2 separate regions of the Homo sapiens genome follow, and region 1 is linked to region 2. Evidence: promoter capture Hi-C in 16 types of primary human blood cells and fetal thymus (Javierre and others, 2016). All regions are on one chromosome and are shown on one strand. Each heading gives the region's core, a stretch centred on a gene start or on the middle of the fragment in contact. The rest is flanking DNA. Distances are from core to core; before and after follow the strand shown.

Evidence for each region. The method cuts DNA at HindIII sites, captures the fragments that hold promoters and counts their contacts. A CHiCAGO score of 5 or more calls a contact.
Region 1: a contact is called between a fragment that was not itself captured here and the fragment with the promoter of MMP19 in region 2, in 2 of 17 cell types (endothelial precursors and total CD8 T cells). The highest score is 5.4, in endothelial precursors.

The regions. Positions count from the first base shown.
Region 1 is chr12:55,955,459-55,958,650 of GRCh38, reverse strand. It overlaps PMEL (premelanosome protein), which reads left to right. Exons shown (of 11, transcript NM_001384361.1): 4 at 44-178; 5 at 567-728; 6 at 980-1,702; 7 at 2,432-2,548; 8 at 2,788-2,872; 9 at 2,982-3,187. Among named protein-coding and RNA genes, the nearest start is that of PMEL, 9.0 kb to the left of the region's middle. RefSeq lists an enhancer at 1,245-1,746. The HindIII fragment of the contact is 2,620 bases long and covers 155-2,774 here.
Region 2 is chr12:55,841,350-55,844,404 of GRCh38, reverse strand. It overlaps MMP19 (matrix metallopeptidase 19), which reads left to right and starts at 1,469. Exons shown (of 9, transcript NM_002429.6): 1 at 1,469-1,661; 2 at 1,967-2,052. The coding sequence starts at 1,575. The HindIII fragment of the contact is 3,493 bases long and covers 1-1,914 here.

The DNA.
Region 1 (3,192 bases), core at 215-2,714, 110 kb before region 2:
AAGAATGCCAGGGTTTGAGAGTGACTCTGTATTTATCTTTCAGGGAGCCAGGTGTGGGGAGGACAGCCAGTGTATCCCCAGGAAACTGACGATGCCTGCATCTTCCCTGATGGTGGACCTTGCCCATCTGGCTCTTGGTCTCAGAAGAGAAGCTTTGTTTATGTCTGGAAGACCTGGGGTGAGGGACTCCCTTCTCAGCCTATCATCCACACTTGTGTTTACTTCTTTCTACCTGATCACCTTTCTTTTGGCCGCCCCTTCCACCTTAACTTCTGTGATTTTCTCTAATCTTCATTTTCCTCTTAGATCTTTTCTCTTTCTTAGCACCTAGCCCCCTTCAACTCTATCATAATTCTTTCTGGCAACTCTTCCTCAATTGTAGTCCTACCCCATGGAATGCCTCATTAGGACCCCTTCCCTGTCCCCCCATATCACAGCCTTCCAAACACCCTCAGAAGTAATCATACTTCCTGACCTCCCATCTCCAGTGCCGTTTCGAAGCCTGTCCCTCAGTCCCCTTTGACCAGTAATCTCTTCTTCCTTGCTTTTCATTCCAAAAACTTCAGGCCAATACTGGCAAGTTCTAGGGGGCCCAGTGTCTGGGCTGAGCATTGGGACAGGCAGGGCAATGCTGGGCACACACACCATGGAAGTGACTGTCTACCATCGCCGGGGATCCCGGAGCTATGTGCCTCTTGCTCATTCCAGCTCAGCCTTCACCATTACTGGTAAGGGTTTAGGAAGGGGCAAGGCCAGTTGTAGGGCAAGAGAAGGCAGGGAGGCTTGGATGGACTGGAAAGGAGAAAGGTGAAATGCTGTGCAAACTTAAAGTAGAAGGGCCAGGAAGACCTAGGCAGAGAAATGTGAGGCTTAGTGCCAGTGAAGGGCCAGCCAGTCAGCTTGGAGTTGGAGGGTGTGGCTGTGAAAGGAGAAGCTGTGGCTCAGGCCTGGTTCTCACCTTTTCTGGCTCCAATCCCAGACCAGGTGCCTTTCTCCGTGAGCGTGTCCCAGTTGCGGGCCTTGGATGGAGGGAACAAGCACTTCCTGAGAAATCAGCCTCTGACCTTTGCCCTCCAGCTCCATGACCCCAGTGGCTATCTGGCTGAAGCTGACCTCTCCTACACCTGGGACTTTGGAGACAGTAGTGGAACCCTGATCTCTCGGGCACTTGTGGTCACTCATACTTACCTGGAGCCTGGCCCAGTCACTGCCCAGGTGGTCCTGCAGGCTGCCATTCCTCTCACCTCCTGTGGCTCCTCCCCAGTTCCAGGCACCACAGATGGGCACAGGCCAACTGCAGAGGCCCCTAACACCACAGCTGGCCAAGTGCCTACTACAGAAGTTGTGGGTACTACACCTGGTCAGGCGCCAACTGCAGAGCCCTCTGGAACCACATCTGTGCAGGTGCCAACCACTGAAGTCATAAGCACTGCACCTGTGCAGATGCCAACTGCAGAGAGCACAGGTATGACACCTGAGAAGGTGCCAGTTTCAGAGGTCATGGGTACCACACTGGCAGAGATGTCAACTCCAGAGGCTACAGGTATGACACCTGCAGAGGTATCAATTGTGGTGCTTTCTGGAACCACAGCTGCACAGGTAACAACTACAGAGTGGGTGGAGACCACAGCTAGAGAGCTACCTATCCCTGAGCCTGAAGGTCCAGATGCCAGCTCAATCATGTCTACGGAAAGTATTACAGGTAAGAGTATCAGTGCGAATGAGGTTCACGGAGGTGGGGTACCCTACTCTACTCTGTAAGTCTTACCCAGGACTCAGATGTTACCCAATCCTTTGCTTAGCACTATGGTCCCCTCAGAGTTCTCACTGGCCTGGCTATAAAGCCCTCCAGTCTCTCTTAATGACATGGAATAGGTCTGGAGTTCAGGAAACCAAGGTCTTCCCCTAGGCCATGAGGAAAGAGCTTGTTGCTTTCTCTACTGCTGAGAACGGTTGGCGAGACCAGGGAACAGACTGTGATCATTTATATAATATTTATAGCTCATTTTCTGTTCAAGCATAAATGCACGAAAATCCTTCCCAGATTCCGAGATCCTGATCCTTCCATTTCCCAACCCTGGATTCCCATCCCAAAGCAAAAAGGGAGGAATGAAACAGTGATGCTTAAATGAGTTAACACACGTTGAATGTCTAGCCTAGGACCTGACATAGTGTGGGGTGTGATAAACATTTGAGGATTTTTTAAAACTCCAATGCCACCCCTAACTGTGACTCTGGAGGAGTCATTTTCTTCTTCTGGGCCTCAGTTTCCTTATCTATAGAATAAGGTTTCCCAGGTCTTATCTGATTCCAAGCCTGTGACTCCAGAATCCAGTAACTCTGGTTCAACCTGAAAAAATGCCTGCTTGGCCTCTGCCTCCAGATGAGTCATCTGTCTCTTGATCTTGCCTCCTTGATCCTCTCCTGCCAGGTTCCCTGGGCCCCCTGCTGGATGGTACAGCCACCTTAAGGCTGGTGAAGAGACAAGTCCCCCTGGATTGTGTTCTGTATCGATATGGTTCCTTTTCCGTCACCCTGGACATTGTCCGTGAGTCTTGCCTACTTTGGTGGCTGATGGAGGCAGCTGTGTGCTACCTAGGGCTGGTCAGTGGAAGCACACCTTGGGAGGAATTACTCACCTAGATAGGAAGAATACCCAAATGCCAGAGTCCTCATTTGAAAGCACAGGGATGGGATTGGTGGAGCAGCCCTGGGGCTTTTCTGTCTCTGGGCTTTTGGGGAGGCCAGGTAGAGGAATCCTAATTTGATAAGCTTGCAACTCTGCAGAGGGTATTGAAAGTGCCGAGATCCTGCAGGCTGTGCCGTCCGGTGAGGGGGATGCATTTGAGCTGACTGTGTCCTGCCAAGGCGGGTGAGTGTCTCACTAGTGTGCTGGTAACTCTTTGGTTGACTGTTTCTCCGCTCTCTGGCATTTAGTGTCCCTTCCCAGATCCCCTTATATATGCTGACACTTCTTCCAGGCTGCCCAAGGAAGCCTGCATGGAGATCTCATCGCCAGGGTGCCAGCCCCCTGCCCAGCGGCTGTGCCAGCCTGTGCTACCCAGCCCAGCCTGCCAGCTGGTTCTGCACCAGATACTGAAGGGTGGCTCGGGGACATACTGCCTCAATGTGTCTCTGGCTGATACCAACAGCCTGGCAGTGGTCAGCACCCAGCTTATCATGCCTGGTAGG
Region 2 (3,055 bases), core at 220-2,719:
GGCTAATTTTTGTATTTTTAGTAGAGACAAGATTTTGCTATGTTGGCCAGGCTAGTCTCAAACTCCTGACCTCATGGTCCGCCCACCTCAGCCTCCGAAAGTGCTGGGATTACAGACGTGAGCCACTGCTCCCGTCCGGTATTTTTAAATGTAAGTTTTTCTTCTTTTCCTTGCATAGCATTTAAGGCCCTCTCCAAATTCTGTCTCCCAACCACTTTCCCACCCTGGTCATTCTTTGACAGTGATTTATTAAGCACAGCCTCGAAAGCATGGAGGTGGCCTGGGGTAGGCACTCGGGCTTCAGTGGTGAATGAAGCAGTCGTGACCCTTCTGACTTACTGAGTACAGCAGTCTCTCAGCTCTGCACTTTTACTCAAGACCTGCACTGTCTGTCTCTCAGTATCCTTTTACCCTATCAATTCTTTTTTTTTTTGAGATGGAGTTTTTGCTCTGTTGCCCAGGCTGGAGTGCAATGGTGTGATCTCAGCTCACTGCAACCTCTGCCTCCTGGGTTCACGTGATTCTCCTGCCTCAGCCTGCCGAGTAGCTGGGATTACAGGCGCCCGCCACCATACCTGGCTAATTTTTGTATTTTTAGTAGAAACAAGGTTTCACCATGTTGGTCAGGCTGGTTTCGAACTCTTGATCTCAAGTGATTCACCCACCTCAGCCTTTCAAAGTGCTAGGATTACAGGAGCGAGCCACCATGCCTGGCCTTACCCCATCAATTCTTAGCTGGCCTTCAAAGCCCATCTCAAAGCCTGACTTCTCAGCAAACCTCCCCCCAGCCCCAAGCCCCTTAGGGTGAATCACCTCTGGCCTGGCACGCTGGCTCCCCTCTTCCCAGGTGTCTGGATCTGCCTCACTGGATCCGTAAGCTCCCTGAGGGTAGGCTCTGGGCCCTTTACTTATTTGTGCCCTTGTTAAGTCCCACCTACACCCACATATTCCAGGCTCATTAGATTCTTGAAATAATGACTTTTTATTAAAGCAGACATAAGTAGGTTGCAGGAGCATCTATATTCCCAACTTGGTCTTGGGTACAAAGAAACTGAGACTTCACGCTTGACTCCTTCACCTGAAACCCAAGCTACCTCAGCTGTTTCCTACCTCTCAGCTTATTCTAGGGAGACTCAAAGGTAGGGGCGGAGTGATTTGCTGGCCCAGGGTCCCTGAGGCACATTGATGTCTAATTCCAGGGGATGTCCATGATCCCTATCTCTAGTCTCTCCAGAGATTCTGGTTCTCGTCCTGCCTGGATGCTCACCCTAGGGCAGTATGAAGTTTTTCCATCTCCAGCAGAGGACTCTGAGGGAAGCGATTGGGAACTCTCTTTGGCTTCCGCTCTCTGGTAGGGCAAGGGTTAATGGTGAATTGCAACATATCTCTTGGCTGAGTCACCTCCCTCTGCCTCTCCCCCAAATTCCCCTCAGCTGTTATAAAGAGGACTAGAGGCTGGAGAGTAAAAAGAACTGGGGGTAAGAGCCCCTCTGCCTAGCACTGCTCCCCCAAGGCTCCCAGAAATCTCAGGTCAGAGGCACGGACAGCCTCTGGAGCTCTCGTCTGGTGGGACCATGAACTGCCAGCAGCTGTGGCTGGGCTTCCTACTCCCCATGACAGTCTCAGGCCGGGTCCTGGGGCTTGCAGAGGTGGCGCCTGTGGTAAGTCCCCCAAGAAAGAGACCTGGGCCAGCGGAGGGACAGGGGTTACTGCTCCACAGCCCCATCGAAGCCTCCCTCCTGACCTTCAGCCTGCCTGCCTTTCCCTTGCTCTCTCTGCCCCATGGTCTACCCTGCCCATCTCCCGCTGCTTCCCCTTGTTCCACCTGAGCCCCTTCTCTAAGGTGCTTCTCCATTAGTGCTTCCATATCAGGTCCCTCCTCTCCTGATGGATCTGTTAGGTCACTTAGAAGCTTTACTCTGAGACTAACCCCCTTTTAACCTGCTTACCTCCACTCCCATCATAGGACTACCTGTCACAATATGGGTACCTACAGAAGCCTCTAGAAGGATCTAATAACTTCAAGCCAGAAGATATCACCGAGGCTCTGAGGTGAGAAGCTATGAGGTGTATGCCTTTAGGGCTAAGGTCTCAAGGTCTTCTTCCTTCTCATCCCTTCCTCTCCCCAGGCCCACCTCCTCCTGACCCTAAACCATGCCAGGGATTTAGAGATGGGTGGCGATCATTATTATGGTGGTGGGGCATGGGGTGAGATGGGGATTCACAGATGAGGAATACAGGCATTGGATCTTCCTAGGCCATAAGCATTCCTTTGGAGTCTCTACCCACATCATATCTCAAATACTAATATTTAGTTATAGTCCACATAAAGTGTAATGATATGTAAAACTGAGTTGAGTTGTTGACATGCTATTACCTTTTGTGGGCCTTCAATTTGGTACTTATTTATTTCTATTTTATAGTTTTATATGTTGATGTAATGGATTATTTTTCTTTCTGCTCTCAGATATGTTCAGGTCCCTTGAAAAGCCCCTAGGCCCTATGACAGTCCATAGATGGATGAAATTGCTCCAGGGCAAGCTGGGCTGGGACGGGTATCCATTCAGGAAGGGAGAAGGCTGAAGGAGGACAGGCTGTCAGGTGGGAGCACTAGTGGAAAGCTCTCCAGAGCAGGGGAGCCAGACACCTCCACAGAGTAGGAGAAGGTTAGAAATTGCAGTAGAGGGGCTGGGCATGGTGGCTCACGCCTGTAATCCCAGCACTTTGGGAGATCCAGGCAGGGGGATTGCTTGAGCCCAGAAGTTTGACAGCAACCTGGGCAACATAATGAGACCCCATCTCTACCAAAAAAGAAAGAAAGGAAGAAAGAAAGAGAGAAGAAAAAGAAAGGAAGGAAGGAAGGAAGGAAGGAAGGAAGGAAGGAAGGAAGGAAGATTGCAGTAGAGGAGGAAGGCTACACCTGAGGGCAAACTTACTCAAATAAAAGACACTGAAAATGGGGAGATGAAGCTGGAGTATCTCCATTTCTGCAGAACAGAAGAGAAAGTCCCAGTTATGAGGACTGGAGGCTGGAGTAACCCTGTCAGCTTCAGGG